Regions from separate parts of the Homo sapiens genome. Here all the other regions are linked to region 5. Evidence: promoter capture Hi-C in 16 types of primary human blood cells and fetal thymus (Javierre and others, 2016). All regions are on one chromosome and are shown on one strand. Each heading gives the region's core, a stretch centred on a gene start or on the middle of the fragment in contact. The rest is flanking DNA. Distances are from core to core; before and after follow the strand shown.

Region 1 (3,176 bases), core at 433-2,932, 480 kb after region 5:
GCCAACAGCCAGCAAGGATGTGGGACCCAGGTCCTGCAACTGTAGGGCCTGGATTCTGACAACAGCTTGTCAGAGCAGGAAGCCAGTTCTTCCTGGAGCCTCCCAGCAAGAACCCTGCTGGCTGAAACCTCAATTTCAGCCTCATGAGACCTTGAACAGAAAAACCAGAAGAACCCGCGAGAACCTCTGACCTCCAGAGCATGAGATGAAAAATGGACGTTGGTTTACGCTGCTACATTTGTTATAATTTGTCCCAGCAGCAGTGGGAAACACACAGTATCCCCCTTGCCTGCTCTGCTGATAGAAAGGTACATTGTTTTCAACCTTCTGCTATGAAGAAAGCTTTGCATTAACTCTCCTTGCTCATATGCACATGGAGTGGAGGACAAATCTGCTGTCAAGCCCTGAATTGGGTTTTTGAGACACTGTCCGTCCAAACACCCACAGTGTGCCCCTGTGCAGAGGCTATGCGTACACAAGGCCCCACCATCCACAGGACGACAGAGGCTGGCTTGGCCAGCCCAAGACCATCCGGCCCCTCAGGAGCTGCCTGACTCCAGGAGCTCGTAGGCCATGCCCCGGCTCCCCCTGGGCAGGCTGCCTCCTGGGTCTGAGTGGGGAACAGGAAGGCCTCAGCCTCTCAGGTCAACAGAAAGTTTGTGCTCAGATGGGCTGAATGTTCCGGGTCCATTTCCTCCTCAAGCCCAGAAGGGTTTGCTTTGCAGGAACCTGTTCCAAGTGATTTCGAAGTACTCAAAGGCTCTTTGGTGGATGTGTCAGGATCCCAATTCCTGAAATAAGAAAGTTGTGTCAAAAATCACAAAAGACGCTGGGCGCGGTGGCTCACATTTGTAATCCCAGCACTTTGGGAGACCGAGGTGGGCAGATCACTTGAGTTTAGGAGTTCAAGACCAGCCTGGCCAGTATGGTGAAACCCTGTCTCTATTAAAAATACAACAATTAGCTCGGTGTGGTGGCAGGTGTCTGTAATCCCAGCTACTTGGGAGGCTGAGGCAGGAGAATCACTTGAACCCAGGAGGTGGAGGTTGCAGTGAGCCGAGATCATCGCGCCCCTGCACTCCAGCCTGGGCGACAGAGTGAGACTGCATCTCAAAAATAAATAAAATCAAAAGGAACTGGCCTGGCCCAACATCCTGGCCGCTGCGTCCTCCTCGCTGCAAAGTCAGATTCCTCGCTCCCGCTGTGGGGTTTCCTGGACCCCTGCCCACAGTCTGCTAAGTGCCTAACCTGGCCACTATTGGAGCCCCCGATCCCACAGAGGTGGCTGTTCAGAGAGAAGCGGTGGGCCCAGTGTTCCCCAGGCCACACTCCACAAGTAGGTGCAGGAAGAAGAGAGGTGACACTTGGGGCTGCTGGGGCTCAGCCCCTCCAGGGCCCTCAAGAGGGGTGTATAAGCCTCCCACCCAGGGGTGACGAGCTGGGTGCTCCCCACCAACACCCGCTGGCATCAGCAGCAGCTGATCCTAGGGCATCACCTGCCCGAAAGCCAAGGAAGCCCCTTGCAGAGGGCAGCGTATCTGGCAGTGGCCACTCGGGTGGGGCCGCCTTCCTCAAGCTCCCAACCCAGCAAGGACTCCCTTGCCTCAGGCTCTCCCCTGCCTCTCTCTCAGCCGCGTGAGCACGGCTCTGGGCACCGCACCTGCACCCAGCAGAACTGTGCTAACCGGGCCAGATCTCCAGGGGCCAACACAGCCTGGCCTCTAGGACGGGCCACGCTGCGAGGGAGGGAGGCAAGTGTGGGGAGGCCGGATTCCACCTGTTTGGTTTTTGATTAGGGAATGGCAGAAACCCAGGCCTCCCGGGGCAGGGATTCAGCTCTCCTAACGGAGGCAGCCTTGGTGGGGGATACTTTTCAGCAGGGACTCTTTTATCCCAGAGTGTTTTTGCTGTGTGCGCGATGACTGGCTCAGTTTTTGTAATAATCGTTTCCATCAGCATAGAGACAGCTGTTTATATTCTTCAACTTTGTATTATGAAAAACGTCAGACAGAAAAGTCGAGAGACTAGTATCGCATGCACCTGTGTGCACAGCATCCAGATTCAACAGTTACGAAGGGAAAATTCCACATTTTATTTTAAATTTACTAAAGACTGAAACACACCAAGTACCGCAGGAAGGATAACCTGGGTGGAGGAGGGATGGGGCTGGAGAGTCGGGGCACAAGGGTGAGGGGAATGGGGTGGGTGGGACAGAGGTGGGGGATGGAGGGTGGGGTAGCATGGGGTGGAGTGGGGGATGGAAGGTGGGATGGGGCTGGGTGGGACCGGGTGGGGAGATGGAGGGTGGGGTGAGGCAGAGGTGGGGGAATTGATGGGCGGGTGGAGGTGGGTGAGGGTAGGGTGGGATGGGTGAGACATGGGAGGGATGGAGCATGGGGTGAGGCAGAGGTGAGGGGATGAAGGGCGGGGTGGGCCAGGGGCAGCCCCCAGTGCCCACAGCTGGAGCAGGCGAGGGGCAGGAGGGAGCGGCTGCCTGCCCCTGCGCTGGGTGGGCCCTGGGGCGCCCCCTGGCCTGCTGCCAGGTCTCCTGAAGGAGGGGTTTGTTCCCGCCTCCCGAGCCCACAGTCTGGTCTGTGTGTGCCTGTGTCTGTTGACAACTCCATGAGTGAACTGTGATACGTCAAGGCTTGGGGGAAGTGTGGGAAATGCTTGTGATTTTCTTTCTCTGTAGAAGTGGAGCAGAGAGAAAGCAGCTCCCACAGCGTGAGCGCCTGATACAGAGGAGACCCGGGGCTTGGAGGCCTTAGGCATTCACTCCAAAGACCTGAGAATTAAGGGAACGCGGCGGGGCCTCTTGCCCAGACCTGGAAGAACAGCAAGTGCTGCGAGGGCCTCTGCACCCCCTGAGGACCCCTACGCCCCCCGAGGACCCCTGTGCCCTGTGAGGGCCCCTGCACCCCTGGGCCTGGGTGGAGACCCACACACAACCCCACTATTCCAGGGGAAGAGAAAGGGGCCCTGTGGGGCTTGTCAACCATCACAGACCCAGAGACTCTGGGCAGAAGCTTCTGCCTGTCACGCTCAGCCTGCGACGGCCCCACCAGGAGAGCGCAGCCGTGAGTCCCAGAGGAAGCGGCTTAAAAGGCCCCTTTCCACCAGCCGCCAAGCCCCTCCAGGCTTTGCTGAGGCCCTGAGGTAGCCAAGCAAAAACCAGC
Region 2 (3,337 bases), core at 54-2,553, 340 kb after region 5:
GGAAGTCCAGATTCCAATTTTTTCTACCCCACACCTAATCTCTAACAGCAGGCTCTGAACACACAGGAATCAGTTGGTGGCTTCTAAAGAGAACATGATACCGTCATGTAGCTGCCTGTCCAGACGCTGAAGCCTGTGCTTTCACCGGACCCTAGTGCTTGTGAATGACGACCTCTGTTCTCCTGGGTCAAAACTTCCTTCACCACCGTCAAGAAGGCCACCCTTTGTCGGCGGGTTAAATGCAGTGTTATTTACATATGGTTTATCTGGGCATCTATAATCCCAGGGCGAGAGCCCACCATCCACCAGCATTTTGGAAGAACGCCTGAGACCTGAGACCTGAGACCTGGTGCAATGGAATCAGATTCCCTGGTAGCTGCTTTTAATGGTGACAGATTCTCTGAAACAGAAAAAGATTGAATTGAGTCTGTCTCCCTGGAGTCGTCCTGCTCTGGGAGATGCAGAGGGAGGGCGGCAGGAGGGAGGACAGTGGGAGGCCTCTGTTGGTCAATTGCTAGGCTGCTGTCACCAGATGGTGGATGGCGTTTGTACAGCACTGGCCAAGGGCCCAGCTCAGCAGGGCCAGAGCCTCAGGTCATGTCGCAGGTGAGCAAAGCAGCGTGGATGGAAGACGAAGATCTTCGTCCCACGGAGGGCTTGCTGTGCGCCCCGCAGGACGCAGATCACCGGGAAGAGCAGGAAGCAGAAGCGCAGGAAAGCCAATGCTGTGACTGAGGCGTGGCCAGCAAGCCAGGCCCTCCAGCCACACCCTGCTCCAAAGGGGCTCCGACAGGATGGACTGATGATTTCCAAGAGAGAACATGCTTTTTATCTTCTATGGAATTTTGCTACCAAAGAGCCTCCCAGCTACCTGTGCCCTTCCCTAACCTGACAATCTTAATTCCCCCATGAAACTCCTCCATCGCGGACATTTGGACAACTCCAGGCTGAGTTTTTCCTAAGGCCACTCTGGCCTTGTGCGTCTCTTCTTTGCTAAGCTGTGTGCCAGCCGCCAGCCCACATCTGGGTTGTACCATGATCCTAACTCCTCACCTGAACACAGCATTTAACAGACTGAAACGTGCCACTCTGGAGCTGGGGACTTCAAGCCACATTTCGCCTGCAGCCCGATCGCCTTCAATCTTTAGCAAAATCCTCTTTCTCATGCAAAACAGTGCAGTCGTAACTTTTAAAATATTTTTTAGAAACTTTCTCTAGAGCCTCCACCACATGGCCACAGCCTGAGACTTTGAAATAATGAAACAATTAAATGATGTTTTCATCATTTCTGAGACTTGCCCATTATCACGAAGCTGAAATGGCCATTTTTTTATAAGTCAAGGAAGGACAGGCAGTTTCAAATGAGTTGGCTAAGACATACGCCAAATTCATAGAAAATAGAAATGAACTATGACTACAGAATGGAAGCAACCACAGAAATATTAGCAGGATTTTAAGTATTATCCCAATCAAGTACTAATAGCTAAGTGAGGTCATTTTTTGGATACCATTCCTGGTCAAAGCTAGGAATGATGTGTGTTCCAGGCTGGACCCTCCAGGCAGAGGCACCGGGATCCCACGCTGTTTCTGGGTTGGCCATTAACCTGCCCCTTGACCTGACAGCGTTTCTCTCTCTTCTCTCTCTACACTTCTCTTCTGATCTTTAGATCGATTTTCCTCCAAGTGACAATGTCCATAAAGAGAGAGGGAGGTGGAAATACAGGCTGTCACATTTCAGCTCTTTGAGGTGCCTCTAAAGATGATGTCAGAGAACAGTAAGTGGCCCACAAATGTGCAGCATCTGTTCCGAGCCTCCTGAAGCCGCCCGGACAGGCAGCAGTACGACCCTGCAAGGCCACAGGGGAGCCAGGGGGTTCTCGCTTTCTTTTTCTTTTAATTATTTCCTCTCAAAAAAGAAAAAAAAAAAAGAAAAGAAAGAAAAAAAGCCCTGCTGGGATAGAACTTATTGAGTTCAGAATGTTCCAGGGCACATAATCAGGCTGCCCTTGTTCCAAGACACTGCTGTGCTCTGTAGCTGACCCCCGAGTCCTCTAGGGCAAGAGTAAGGACACAGTCGGCTCCCGAAAGCTGGTGCAGATGGACCCCACCACGCAGGGCCTGGAGTTGGGCCAGACCTGCAGACCCCCTTGATGGCCTGCGGCAGGACCCTTCACCTGGGTCAAGGCCTCCTGGTGCTCCTAGGGGCCTCTTGAGGAGCCTGGGCACCAGCATTTGCCTTTGAGGACAGGACTGAGGGCCTGCATTTTGCACGAATGTACCTGAAATGTTTGCTCTGGATTTACCTTTCCAATGGTGCCTATGCAGGAATCCCAAAGAATGCCTGGTGGGGTCTGAGGCGGGTCTCAGGCCGGGAGCCCTCCACAGGCAGCAATATTTGGCTAGAATTTAATGCCATTTTGTTTCTTTTTATCTATTTTTATGGTGACCTCTTTGTGGTAATTGACACTGACTTTTTAAAAAATAAACTTACCCTTTTAATCAAATGTGTGAATTGTTTAAAGGAAAAACATTGTGTAAATAATGTTTTCAGGGGGTAGAATCCAGACGTGAGTTTTGGAAACAGAGTCCAGTCCTGCTTCTGACATTTGAATTGCTTCTCCAGCATCATCACCAGAAGATGGGCTACCTGTGCTCACAAGCCTCCTGTAACACGGAGCTCACCACCTCTCAAAGGCACCTTCTGTCAGGTCTGCCTGGAAATGCTGCTCCCGCAGACTCCGCACCTGAGGCCAGGTCTGCAGCGAAGCTCATCCACACCTGAGGCCAGGTCTGCAGCGAAGCTCAGCCCCCTTCCTTCACAGGAGAAATACTTCTGGGTGTGCACCTTCCACTCCTGGCAGGGCCGTGAGCCCCTGTGGCAGTGCCTCACCCTCTGGGAGGGACCCTCTCCATCTGGGAACAATGTGGGTACTTTTTTCTCTTAAAGGGCAGTGTCAGGAATGAAAGCAGATACCCAAAAGCAGTGGGTCTCGTGGCCTCGTGTCTGCTTCCAGAAGTGGAGGGCGGCCTGGGACGGCGGGAGCCCTGAGGACACCACCGGGGGGGTCCCGGGACCTGATACGAGTGGGCAGGAGCCCCAAGCCCTGGAGGAAGGAAAACCATTTCATAAATAACTGCATGGGGTTGTGGGCCTTTTCTCACAAGCCGCAGCACCTCCTTCGTCTCTCCACGGTGAACCCGCCCGCCACGCTATGCCACCAGGCCAGGTCCTGCAGCACCGCCTCCGTGGCTAGGACTTCCTCACCAGCCTGGGGCCGTGAGGTGGTCATTTCCCCCCTTACCTGACTTATCTCAGGATTCACACACACACACTTGA
Region 3 (3,187 bases), core at 330-2,829, 260 kb before region 5:
ACAGGAAGAAAAGCATTTTAACAAAAATAAACATCCACTCACGACAAAAATTCTCACCAAACTAGGAAAAGAAGGTGCATAGACTGAATGCCATCACAATTCATATGCTGAAACCCAATCCCCAAGGTGATGGTAGCAGAAGCGGGGGGACTTTGGGGGCCCAGCCCTCATTAACCGGATTAGCGCCCTTATGAAAGAGCCTGTCCCACAGCTGCCTTGCCCCTTCCTTCCACACTCTGAGGACACACAAGAAGCTGCATGGGAGCAGGCAGCAGGCCCTCACCAGCATGGCAATCTTGCACTTCCCAGGACTGTGAGAAATGAATTTCCGGTGTCTAGAAGCCTCCCAGTCTATGGTATTTTGTTACAGCAGCCAGAATGGCCTATGACAGAAGGGGATTCCTCAACCTAACACAGGGCCTCTATGAAAAACCTGCAGCTGACATCATGTGCGTCATGAGAGAAGACAGACTGCCTCCCCCAAGATCAGAAACAAGGCAAAATGTCCCTTCTCAACGCTTCTGTTTGTCATATTACACTGGAGGTTGTGGCCAGTGCAATGAGACAAGAACAAGAAATAAAAGGTGCACAGACCAGAAAAAAAGACATGAACCACTCTTTACTGCAGATCACGCCTATCTTTGAAGAAAATCCTAAGAAATCCACAGGATATAAAGTCAATTTTTTTTATTTTAATTGCATTTATTGTATGCTGAGTTTATTCCCATGCCACAAGTTTTTGTTTCTTCAGTTTCTTCTGGTACAGTTTTCCTCTGTGCAACTTCCTCACCTGGCTTGGGAACAAGTGTCTTTACCGTGAGGATCGTCTCAATGTGACGGGGCGCCCTGTATGGATGAACCCGACCACCAGCCCTGGAAGTCCCACAGCGCATCCTGGGTGCTCAAACACCAGAGAGCCTACATCTACACCCTCACATTCAGTGTGACTCTCCACATTTTTAATTGTGTGCAGCAAAAATTCAGCGCTCTTTTCGGGTCACCAACCCTGTGTCCAGCCCCACTGTTTGGCCTAGGTACACCTGCCAGCTCCACCCCTGCCAAGTCGGAATGGCATACACTGTTTCTATAAAGGGACGTCTTTCAGACACTTGGTGACTTCTCACGTATGCATACCCTTGATGGCCTGGGCAGTTTCACGAGCGTTCTTAAAGTGATCAAGAAGACCTGAACCTCTGGATTTGCACGATTTTGTGGGGATTTCTGGGTCAAGTGACTAATGAACCATTTTCACAGATCATCTCAGGCCGCTTGGGGAAGAGCTATAAAGTCACTATTTTTAAAAGCAATTTTTTTGTTGTTTTTTTTTTGGTTTTTTGAGACGGAGTCTCACTCTGTCGCCCAGGCTGGAGTGCAGTGGCGCGATCTCGGCTCACAGCAAGCTCCGCCTCCCAGGTTCATGCCATTCTCCTGCCTCAGCCTCCAGGTGGCTGGGACTACAGGAGCCCACCACTACGCCCGGCTAATTTTTTGTATTTTTACTAGAGACAGGGTTTCACAGTGTTAGCCAGGATGGTGTCGATCTCCTGACCTCGTGATCCACCAGCTTCGGCCTCCCAAAGTGCTGGGACTACAGGCGTGTGCCACCATGCCCAGCTAATTTTTTGTATTTTTAGTAGAGACAGGGTTTCACAGTGTTAGCCAGGATGGTCTCAATCTCCTGACCTCATGATCCGCCCGCCTCAGCCTCCCAAAGTGCTAGGATTACAGGTATGAGCCACTGAGCCACCGAGCCACTGACCCACCGCGCCCGGCCAAAAGCAATTGTTTTTCTAAATACTGGCAACAATTGGAAACAAAATTTTTTAAAGGACCACGTACATGGCATAAAATATGAATACTTAAGAATAAATTTAACAAAGTATGTTCAGGATACAAACACTGAGAACTTGAAACAACCCTGAGAAAAATCCTGAAAGGCCTAAATCAATGAAGAGGTACAACACGTTCGTGAATCAGAACACTCGATATTGCTAAGATATCAATGATCATAAAACCGATCTATAGACTCAATACAATCCCAAGCAAGATATCAAGGTATTGGCCAGGCCCAGTGGCTCACACCTGTAATCCCAGCACTTTGAGAGGCTGAGGCAGGCGGATCACCTGAGGTCAGGAATTCAAGACCAGCCTGGCCAACACGGCAAAACCCTATCTCTACTAAAAATACAAAAATTAGCCGGGTGTGGTGGCACGTGCCTGTAATCCCAGCTACTCGGGAGGCTGAGGCAGGAGACTCACTTGAACCCGGGAGTCGGAGCTTGCAGTGAGCCAAGATCGTGCCACTGCACTCCAGGAAAAGATGTGAAAGAGTGAAAAATTCCGTCTCAAAACAAACAAAAAGCTATCAAGGTATCAAGAGGCTTTTTTTGTAGAAGTTGACGAACTGATTCTGAAACACATGAATGCAAACGACCAGAACAGCCCTCAACGTTTTCGAAAAAGCAGCACTGGAGGACTCCTGCCACCCATCAACACTCCCTCTAAATGGGCTGGAAAGTGCTGAGCTGCAGAAGGGAAGACAAGGACATGAGTGGACAGAACACATCCCAGAAGTGACGTCCTCACACGTGGCCGACTGAGTTTCAATAAAGGCAGCAGCATCGTTCAATAGAGAAAGGAAGGTCTCCTCAACACATAAGGCTGGCATGATTGGTAACCACAGAAAAAATGAGTCTCAACCCCCTACCTTACAACTCTCCCAAAATTAACTTGAATTGGGTTGAGTAAGAGCTAAAGCCATAAGCATTCTAGAAAACTCCTGTACCTTGGGTTAGGCAAAAATTTATTTAAGAAGGCACAAGATGAATTCTTAAAATGACTCACTGGATTTATTTAAGAAGGCACAGGACGAATTCTTAAAATGATACACTGGATTTATTTAAGAAGGCACAAAATGAATTCTTAAAATGATACATTGGGCTTCCTTAAAATTGAAAACTTGCACTTTAAAACGCATGCAGCTAAAAGAAAAGGCAAACACAGACCAAGAAAATAGTTACAGAACAATTCTATCTGATAAATTACTTACATCTAGAAAATACATTTTAAACTCTTACTAAATCAATAATGACAAAACTAACAACCCAATTTAAAACACACAGACAAAAGATTTGAAAAGACACCTCCCGAAAGAAGATAGGCAAATGAGCAAATAAGCTGGTGGAAA
Region 4 (3,176 bases), core at 134-2,633, 290 kb before region 5:
AACAGAGGGAGGGTGGGCCACGAGGCTCCTCACCAGAACCCTCCTCTCGGGAGGCAGGGCAGTGCTGCCCCCACACTGCCCTGACAACCACAACACAGGCGCAGATGCGACGCAACCCTTAGGACAGGAGAACCATTTGCCCGTCATGGTTCTTGAGCTAAACCACAGGAAAGCAAATCCTGCCATTCAGGTTTGGCATTAATGTTAGCTTCAAAAAACAGCAACCAGTTATATCATAAATTCCATTAGAAACAGCAACACAATTGTCCAACTTTTAAATTTAACTTCCCATGACAGAGGTGGGGATGCAGCCGTGGGAGCAGGGCTATAAACACTGCACTCTTTCCCGAGTGAAGCCTCGGCAGACAGCCCAGCACCAAGGAGCTGAGAAACTAAACACACGTGCAATGAGGCACCGCCACCGGCCGTCCCCACCACCCATCACACACTGGCCAAGCCACGGGGCACAGGGGGCGGCCACTGCGTTTCCCAGCCTCTCCTTCCTCCCCTTTATGGAGAATGGGAAATGATAACCTCGAAAAAGATGAAGTAAGGCCTGAAAACCTCCTGTTGGTCATGATGACAAATGAGCGTGGGGCTTCCTCCTCCTGCGCTATGACGCTGGGGCACTCTCAGGGCTGTCGGCTCCAGCTCTTTCGAAACTCAGCATGGTATCAAGAATAATGGTGATGCCTCTCCTGGGCTAACATCTAAAATTCTTGATCCAAAAAGCCACATTTATGCCCATTAAGAAAACTTCCCCCCAAAACGCCCCTTTCAAAATAAACCATGCTGAAATCAAACAAAAACCAAACACCCAGCTGCAGCAAATAACCTGCTGGAATCTCCAAGCCTGGAGCTCGGGAACGAAGTAACAGGAAAGGCCTCCAAGGCTCCGTCTCCGAGTCTGTGCCCACAGTGCCCAAGGACAGCCTTCAAAGCCAGGTGGGCACTCATCAGCCATGTGGCCGCCAGAGCTGCTGCGCGTAACGAGGGAGAGTTCCACTCTCACCCAAGCACACTCGGCGCCTGGGGACCCCAAAACAAGACACCTGGTAAATACCCCCATGTATGTGGTTATTATGGAGTGTCAACTTGATTGAAGAATGCAAAGTATTGTTCCTGGGTGTGTTTGTGAGGGTGTTGCCAAAGAAGGTTAACATTTGAGTCAGCGGACTGGAAGAGGCAGACCCAGCGTCAATGTGGCTGGGCACCATCTAATCAGCTGCCAGCGTGGCTAGAATAAAGCAGGCAGAGGAACGTGGAAGGACTGGACTGGCTGAGTCCTCCGGCCTCCATCTTTCTCCAGAGCTGGATGCTTCCTGCCCTGGAACTTCAGACTCCAAGTTCTTCAGCTTTTAGACTCCTGGCCTTACACCAGTGGTTTGCCAGGGGTTCTCAGGCCTTTGGCCACAGACTGAAGGCTGCACTGTCGGCTTCCCTACTTTTGAGATCTGGGGACTCAGACTGGCTTCCGGGCTCCTCAGGTGCACACAGCCTATTGAGGGACTTCACCTTGTGATCCTGAGAGTCAATTCTCCTAATAAACTCCCCTTCATAGATTCATCTCTCCTATTAGTTCTGTCCCTTTAGAGTACGCTAATACAATGTCCTCAAACCCAACACTTCATTCACTGCATTCGGAGACACCTTGCTCCTCCTCCTCAAGAATTCTGAGAAGCCAGGGTGAGTGTGGTGGCTCACACCTGAAATCCAGCACTTTAGGAGGCCAAGATGGAGGGATCACTTGAGGCTGGTTCGAGACCAGACTGGGCAATATAGTGAGACCCCATCTTTGCAAAAAAAAAATTTTTTTTTAATTAGCCAGGCGTGGTGGCACACCTGTAGTTCCAGCTACTTGGGAGGCTAGGGTGGGAGGATCATCTGAGTCCAGGAGCTGGAAGCTGCAGTGGGCTACCATCGCATCATCACACTCCAGCCTGGACCACAGAGTGAGACCCCATCTCCTAAAAACAAAAAAAAAAAATGTTTTTAAGGAATTCTGAGAAGCCAATAATGGACGCAGACTTAAGTGCACACATGGGAATGGGACGGAAACAGGACAAAGGAGGCTTCAGTGTCCGTCCCAGTGCCTCCACACCCAATGTCAAACCTGACATTCTCATAGTGAGTGAAGAGACTTTAATTATCAGGAGCTTTGTGCTTTAAAAAATTGCATCCAAGGCCAGGCACGGTGGCTCACGCCTGTAATCCCAGCACTTTGGGAGGCCAAGGCGGGTAGATCACGAGGTCAGGAGATAGAGACCATCCTGGCTAACACGGTGAAACCCCATCTCTACTAAAAATACAAAAAAAAAAAAAAATTAGCCAGGCATGGTGGCGGGCCCCTGTAGTCCCAGCTACTTGGGAGGCTGAGGCAGGAGAATGGCATTAACCTGGGAGGCAGAGCTTGCAGTGAGCTGAGATCGTGCCGCTGCACTCCAGTCTAGGCGACAGAGCGAGACTCCGTCTCAAAAAATTAAAATAATAATTTAAAAAAATTGCATCCAAAAAATTAGCCAGGTGTGGTGGTGCATGCCTGTAATCCAGCTACTTCAGAAGCTGAAGCAGAATCGCTTGAACCTGGGAGGCGGAGGTTGCAGTGAGCCGAGATTGCACCACTGCACTCCAGCCTGGACGACAGAGCAAGAGTCCACCTCAAAAAAAAAGAAAAAAAAAAGTATCCAGATATATTTAAAGGAATACGTTCAAAAAAAAAAGTATTAACAAAATAGCAATGTGGTTAAAATTCTAACAAAATAAAAGTGGCATTCTGGACATCACAGAAGTGTAGGGAAACAGCCATGGGTCACTGTGAAAATGTGCCCTGTGGTCGGGCCCAGTGTCCCTTGTGGTCAGGAAAGTTGGAGAAGGAATCAAACGTCCCACAAGAAGTGACCATGTGACTTCAGGCAGGTACAACGTAGCTTCTCGAGGCATTGAAAATATCTGTGAACCAAGCGCGAGTGGCCACGTCTCCTAAGCCGAACTGAGGTTTGCTTCCAACAAACAGCACATAAGAGGCGCTGTCACTGGGGACTTTCTTGTCCGCCTCCCTGGTTATTGTATCACAGCCTGACTGTACCAAAAAGCAAAGTCAGACACTGTGTGATGATCTGAGGACACTCAGAACACCAACGGCTGCATCCACGCCATGTTTCCGAGAGGTTCTCACA
Region 5 (2,992 bases), core at 37-2,536:
CGGCTCACTGCAACCTCCACCTCCCGGGTTCAGGCGATTCTCGTGCATCAGCCTCCTGAGTAGATGGAATTACAGGCATGTGCCAGCATACCTGGCTAATTTTTGCATTTTTAGTAGAGTCGGGGTTTCATTCACCATGTTGCCCAGGCTGGTCTTGAACTCCTGGCCTCAAGTAATCCGCCCGCCTCGGCCTCCCAAAGTTCTGGGTTTACAGGCGTGAGCCACCGCGCCTGAGCCCTCTAAGAGCCCCCGCCTGGCGTCGCTGTAGGCAAATCCCAAAGAACGTGTCCCTTCAGCAGCCGGCTGGGGCGCCACAAACACTATCTGTTGTCTTCGCTTTAGTTTGTGTCAAAGTGACTCAAAGTTACACAACACTGGCGGGCGACTGCCGCCTTTTTACCCTGTGGCCTTTCCCATCCAGGCGTCCAGAGGGTGAGCCCCTGCCCTCCAGGACCCCTCCCTTCCAGGACCCTACCCGTCTGGGACTCAGGCCTTCCCTGACTCCTCCCTCCCGGACTCACCCCTCCCAGATCCCTCCCCTCCGGGACCCTCTCCCCTCCCGGGCCCCCTCCCCTCCGGGAACCCCTCCCCTCCCGGACTCACCCCTCCCAGATCCCTCCCCTCCAGGAGCCCCTCCCCTCTCGGGACCCCTCTCCTCCCGGACCCACCCCTTCCTGACCCCTGCCCTCCCGGACCCCTGCGGGACTAGATGTATACAGCTGAGACCATATCACGGTTCTCACCCTCGCTCTACCCTCCCGGACCCCTGCTCTCCCGGACGCGTGGACTCCAGCTCCCGCCTGGGTCCCCAAAGCGCTGAACCCATGGTCACTTCTATGCGTAGCCCTGGTGCCCGCCGCCCACAGCCGGACCGCACTCCTCGGCCTCCGCCTAACCCCTGGCTCAGCCACACGAGTGACAGCTCTGCCCGCCCGGGCGGGCGACGCCGAGGGGTGGGCTCGGCCCCACCTGAGCAGTTCCCCAGCGCCCCTCTGAAACCCGCCTGTGGTCCCTGGCGCCGCCTCTAGGGGCCGCCGCCGCTCCCCTATGACACAGCAACAATAGGGGCCGCTCTGGTCCAAGCGCCCTGCGGCCCGCGCTTCCGCCGGAAAAGAGCCGCCGGCGCGGGGGCGGACCGGGGAGGAGCGAGTGCGATGGACGGTCGCCCTCGCCAATCGTTGGCAGGTTAGAGCCGGCTGCGCGGCTTACGGGGCTCAATCGGCGGCGAGAGCGGCAGGCGGGGCGGGCCGAACGCGGGTTTCCGGCGGGGCCCGGCAGGCGCCGAGGAGGAAGAGCGAGCCCGGACGGCGCCTCTCGAACGAGTGTGGGCGCGAGGCAGGTGCGGGAGTCGCCGGGCCTGGGGCGGCCGGGGGCGACCGGAGGCGGGGGCAGGGGCTGCTGGACCAAGGATGGGGCGGGGGCAGCCAAGACGAGAAGGTGGCCGGCGCGGCGGGTGGGGCCTGCGGGGGCCGGGCCGGGCGGGGGTTCTGGGGTCTCGGGCGCCGCCCCGGTTCCGCCTGCGGCTCTGAACGTGGGGCTCGGCGGGAGCTCGGGCGGGTCTGCCCCGCGGAGCGGGTCGCCGGGGTGGCGCGTCGAGGCTGGTGCCCCGCGGAGACGGCGTCAAGCCTAGGGCCGGCCCCACTAGGCTTGGCGGGGCTGCCCCGGCCCAGCGCCGAGTGCGGGCGGTGCGATCGTCGTGAGCGGGGCAAACGCGGAAAGGCAGCCCGGCGTGTCTGAGTCTGCCTTAGGCAGCTCTGGGCGCAGGCCCCCTGCTCGCAAACACCCCAGGGGGCGGGAGCTTGCCGGACCGCAGGCGACAGTGACCGCCGCGTCTCAGCGTCCTCTCCGCGCTTTCAGGATGACGACCTCAGGCGCGCTCTTTCCAAGCCTGGTGCCAGGCTCTCGGGGCGCCTCCAACAAGTACTTGGTGGAGTTTCGGGCGGGAAAGATGTCCCTGAAGGGGACCACCGTGACTCCGGATAAGCGGAAAGGGCTGGTGTACATTCAGCAGACGGACGACTCGCTTATTCACTTCTGCTGGAAGGACAGGACGTCCGGGAACGTGGAAGACGTGAGTGTCCCTGAGCCGCAGCAGCAGGACAGGCGACTTCTCGGGCCCTCGGAGTCCTCGCTTTGGAGTTCGCGGTGGGGGCTTGGCCGCATCTGGGGACCGCTCGTGGGGCCGTCATCGACTGCCCTGCTGATGGGTCGTCCTGGTTTCCGCGGTGACAGGGGCATCTCGGCCACTGTGTATCTTGAACTGTCCGTGTGAGGTGCCTGGGTTGGAGGTGTGGCCCTGGAGAGCCCGGAGCTCTGTGCCTGGCCTTGAACTGTCCGTGTGAGGTGCCTGGGGTTGGAGGTGTGGCCCTGGAGAGCCTGGAGCTCTGTGCCTGGCGGCTTCACTCAGTCTTCTTTGTTTTTCAAACTCTTAGTTGTTCTTTGTTACATTTGAGAGCAGTTCAGCGTTGACTTTTTAACTACTCTGGGAATGTTGTTTCCAGCACGTCTCAGAAACCCCGTTGCCATCTGAAAGGCCCCTTTCCCTGCTCTCTCCCCCGGCCTTGCCTTTCATGGGCTGTCTCTGACCCTGGCTTCTCTGCCTTGTGGAGACCCTGCCAGCGAGGGGTCTGGCGGCTTAGCTGCCCCTTGCGCACCCCACCCGGTTAGACCCAGGGCTCAGTACGCTCTCCTGAGACTGGGCACAGTGATGCCATCTGCGCCACTGACTCTCTCTTCCCCTGGCTTGCCAGGACTTGATCATCTTCCCTGACGACTGTGAGTTCAAGCGGGTGCCGCAGTGCCCCAGCGGGAGGGTCTACGTGCTGAAGTTCAAGGCAGGGTCCAAGCGGCTTTTCTTCTGGATGCAGGTATGGGGCAGGCCTTGGGGTTGTGCCTTTTTGTTGCCCTGCGATTCGGTTAGGAACTTGCTTACAGTGTGGTGCAATTGGCTTTTATAAACCAGCAGGCGCCGGCCACACCCGGCCACACGGCC
Region 6 (3,163 bases), core at 639-3,138, 300 kb before region 5:
CTGCTTGAACCTGGCAGGCGGAGGTTGCAGTGAGCCAACATCACGCCACTGCGCTCCCACCTGGCGACAGAGCAAGACTGTCTCAAAAAAAAAAAAAAAAAAGAGAATGAGGGTGAAATACAATTTTTCAAGTAAACAAAACCAGAGAATCCATCACCAGTAGATCTGCACCACAAGAAATCCCAACAGCTCTCCTTCAAGCCAAAAGGAAATGGTGGCAGACGGAAACAGACCCACGGGAAGGAATGAAGAGTACCGGAGATGGCAAATAAGGAGGGAAACATAAAAGACCGTTTTCTTTCTTCCTGTAATTTACTTAAAAAAAAACAACTGACAGTTGAAAGCAAAAATAACATGTCAAGGCTGGGTTTATAATTATTAGACTAAAAGATACAACCACAAACATAGACGAGAAACTAATGGAATTTGGAGAAACAGCAGCGGGCAGCAATTCTTCCCCTTCATTCCACGAACTGTCCATTCTCCTACAGCAGCTTATCCCACAGACACTGTGCAGGAAGCACAATCAGCAAGATCCCTATTCGGATCATTCTTCTGACAGTTATAACTTCCCCACATCCTTTTCAAATCCAGCCTAAACCTCATCACAGTAATCAAACTTCCTCACGAAAAAGACTTTCAGCTCAAGTGATAGCCACAAATAAGCTGATTTGGATTTAAAATGTCAAACGTAAAACAAATACTCCAGAAAAGGTGAGACAAAATGTAAATGGTAAGAAAGCAAATTCCCCTATGTGTGTCCGTCCCCTAGAAGAGGGTGGCTCTAAGATGTTCCCCATGTTTCCCCCAGGACCTCGATCCCACAACACTGCCGTACCTCTGCTCCTGAGCCCGGCCCCGGACAGTCCACTTTCCTCTTTTTCCTGGGCCCGATCGCTGCTAGTGCTGTGAGGTTGGCGTCCCGCTGTCTCATTTGTGCCAGTTCCTGTTGCTGCATCTTTTATTTTGAAAAGGAGACAAGGAGCATCATTTCTTGCATGTTTTTTACTTACTACAAAAGTAATACATAGATATGAAAGGGTTTTCTGTAGTTTTCTAAATCATAACTTCTTTAATGTTTTGACTTTCTCAATAGTAAGCATATTCTATAATCCAAAAAATAAGATTTTTTTTAATGCAACAGATGTTTGTCTTAAAACTCTCAGAAAATATACGCAAGTCAAAAGCACAGAGACTAATGCCCCCCGCAAAGGGAAGTCACCGTTGAATTTAAAAGTAGGACACCAACTGTTTGCACAGGAAAATACCTCTGATGTTGTATTTATTTAAACTTGGCAAACATTTTAAACAGACACGCAAATGCCTATCGTACAGAAGTGCCACGGTTTCCTTAGCCCCCCTCCCGTGGGGCGCTACAGTGCACAGCAAAGTGCCCACGAGCACTCACGACTAACAGGGCTCACCTCCTTTGCCTTCTGTTTCAGCCTTAACTGTTCTGGATCTTCTTGTCTTGACCGAGACTATTTTTGAAAGAGGCAGAAAAGAAAAGTAAGTTATGAACTAAATGTTTATCATTTAACAAATGTGTTATCTTATTTACTATACAATAACATCTAGGTAATGTTAAAGAATGCATAGCAAATTTGTGAAATGCTTATAGCCAAAGATGAAAATTTACATCACACACCATGAAAAAAGCCAGTAATCTTGAGAAAAGTCAGTAACATTTGGATGTAAGATACAGTCTTTGAAACACATCTACCAATCGCAGGCTCTGACTTGACCTGATGTGACCGCATGATGGCAGGCAGAATGGGCCTCATAGGCTCCTTGCTGTCCTGTCCCACACACCAGGGACGGGACAGCCTGTGGCTGTGATCAAAGCAAGTGCTCCTCCCACTCCACAGTACCCACCCCCGTCCCTGGGGAACTGTGGTCTCCTGTCTGATTCTATTAATGAGCAGTGCCTCGCCTGGCTGTGAATGTTCTAGAACAAGGACAACGTGAGTGTGAAGAGTCCAGTCCAGCGCACACAGGGGGCTCTAGGAACATGTGCTTCACACCTGGGTGTGACTGTGTGGAGCGTGAGGTGCTGGGAATCTTAAGAAGCCCCGCTTTTCAAGCATCTACGCTAGTGCCAAATGAATGAGGCTTCTCTTTGCAGCTCCACTGACAGCACCCATCACCTTTGCTTCAAGGCCAGCCCAAAACATGCTCTGACCACCCAAAACCCCACTGTCTCAGTGAGCTCATCAGGTTGTGGCTGAGACGGAGGTGCCCAGACGGCAGCAGCAGACACCCAGCACTCGCCTTTGCTGCCCTCATCAGGATCTCCCGCTCCTGCTCATCCTTCCTCTGCTTTTCGATTTGATCAAGCTGTTCAAAAAACTTGAGCTGTGCCCGGACGTCACTCGCCTGCTCATATCTGTCGTCATCCTATGAAGAAAGTTAAAATACTGCTTGTCATAAATCTGAGAGCCCAGCAAGCAAAGGGGTTGTCTAGCACCACTGGACCATCCGTGCACAACGCCCTCCCTCCGTCCAGTCTGAATGCGGCGAGGACCCGATCCCTCCCACCCTGCAAATGCTGCGCCCGAGAGCTCTATCGATGCTCACGTCCACAGAACGAAGTCTCGTGTTGGCTGTCTCAGGGGCACACTTGTGGGAGAGTGTCCCTTTTATACACTTTGATGCTGTCAGATTTCTTAAAGTAACATTTACCTTTTTTGCTGCAACACAGAACTACTTTTACAGCAAGGGCTAAGTGTGTTTATTTCAGTGCTGCCCTGAAGGCACTGCCTCCCGGCTGTGGCAGCAGGCACCACCTCACCCAGTGTGCCCTTGGAAGAGTGTTCATATGTGACTGCTGGTGAGGAAGGCACGTTTTACTTGGAAGAGCTGCTTCATGAGAATAGGGCTGCGGCACCTCAGGGTCTGCCAGTTCAGCCCATGGCCCAGAGAGAGAGGCAGGTGCCTTCCAAAAGGTAAACCCGCCAGGCATAGAGGCTCATGCCTGTAATCCCAGCATTTAAGGAGGCCAAGTCAGGAGGATCACTTGAGGCAAGGAGTTTAGGACCAGCCTGGGCTACATCGCGAGTCCCTGTCCCTTTTATTAAAAATACAAAAATTAGTTGGGCACGGTGGTGTGCGCCTGTAATCCCAGCTACTTGGGAGGCGAAGGCACAAGAATCGCTTGAACCCA

What was found. The method cuts DNA at HindIII sites, captures the fragments that hold promoters and counts their contacts. A CHiCAGO score of 5 or more calls a contact.
Region 1: a fragment that was not itself captured here is called in contact with the fragment with the promoter of ADRM1 in region 5 in 5 of 17 cell types (M0 macrophages, naive B cells, total B cells and 2 more); the score reaches 8.6 in M0 macrophages.
Region 2: a fragment that was not itself captured here is called in contact with the fragment with the promoter of ADRM1 in region 5 in 3 of 17 cell types (naive B cells, erythroblasts and endothelial precursors); the score reaches 5.6 in naive B cells.
Region 3: a fragment that was not itself captured here is called in contact with the fragment with the promoter of ADRM1 in region 5 in 1 of 17 cell types (neutrophils); the score reaches 10.4 in neutrophils.
Region 4: a fragment that was not itself captured here is called in contact with the fragment with the promoter of ADRM1 in region 5 in 10 of 17 cell types (activated CD4 T cells, neutrophils, naive CD8 T cells and 7 more); the score reaches 7.9 in activated CD4 T cells.
Region 6: a contact is called between a fragment that was not itself captured here and the fragment with the promoter of ADRM1 in region 5, in 1 of 17 cell types (neutrophils). The highest score is 6.0, in neutrophils.

What each region holds. Positions count from the first base shown.
Region 1 is chr20:62,783,039-62,786,214 of GRCh38, forward strand. It overlaps LOC105372716 (a long non-coding RNA gene), which reads right to left. Exons shown (of 4, transcript XR_936986.3): 4 at 180-791. Among named protein-coding and RNA genes, the nearest start is that of LINC00659, 7.8 kb to the left of the region's middle. The HindIII fragment of the contact is 2,684 bases long and covers 341-3,024 here.
Region 2 is chr20:62,638,243-62,641,579 of GRCh38, forward strand. LOC124904949 (a long non-coding RNA gene) reads right to left here. Exons shown (of 2, transcript XR_007067711.1): 2 at 1-3,104. Among named protein-coding and RNA genes, the nearest start is that of SLCO4A1, 2.6 kb to the right of the region's middle. The HindIII fragment of the contact is 4,159 bases long and covers 1-3,337 here.
Region 3 is chr20:62,036,711-62,039,897 of GRCh38, forward strand. All of the region lies in intron 1 of TAF4 (TATA-box binding protein associated factor 4), which reads right to left. It also overlaps the pseudogene RPL17P48. Among named protein-coding and RNA genes, the nearest start is that of MIR3195, 26 kb to the right of the region's middle. The HindIII fragment of the contact is 5,228 bases long and covers 1-3,187 here.
Region 4 is chr20:62,015,174-62,018,349 of GRCh38, forward strand. All of the region lies in intron 1 of TAF4 (TATA-box binding protein associated factor 4), which reads right to left. Among named protein-coding and RNA genes, the nearest start is that of MIR3195, 48 kb to the right of the region's middle. The HindIII fragment of the contact is 7,988 bases long and covers 1-3,176 here.
Region 5 is chr20:62,301,711-62,304,702 of GRCh38, forward strand. It overlaps ADRM1 (ADRM1 26S proteasome ubiquitin receptor), which reads left to right and starts at 1,287. Exons shown (of 10, transcript NM_007002.4): 1 at 1,287-1,339; 2 at 1,858-2,071; 3 at 2,751-2,867. The coding sequence starts at 1,859. RefSeq lists silencers at 797-916, 937-1,396. The HindIII fragment of the contact is 19,122 bases long and covers 1-2,992 here.
Region 6 is chr20:61,996,712-61,999,874 of GRCh38, forward strand. It overlaps TAF4 (TATA-box binding protein associated factor 4), which reads right to left. Exons shown (of 15, transcript NM_003185.4): 12 at 2,272-2,397; 13 at 1,425-1,481; 14 at 839-958. Among named protein-coding and RNA genes, the nearest start is that of MIR1257, 45 kb to the left of the region's middle. The HindIII fragment of the contact is 4,890 bases long and covers 1-3,163 here.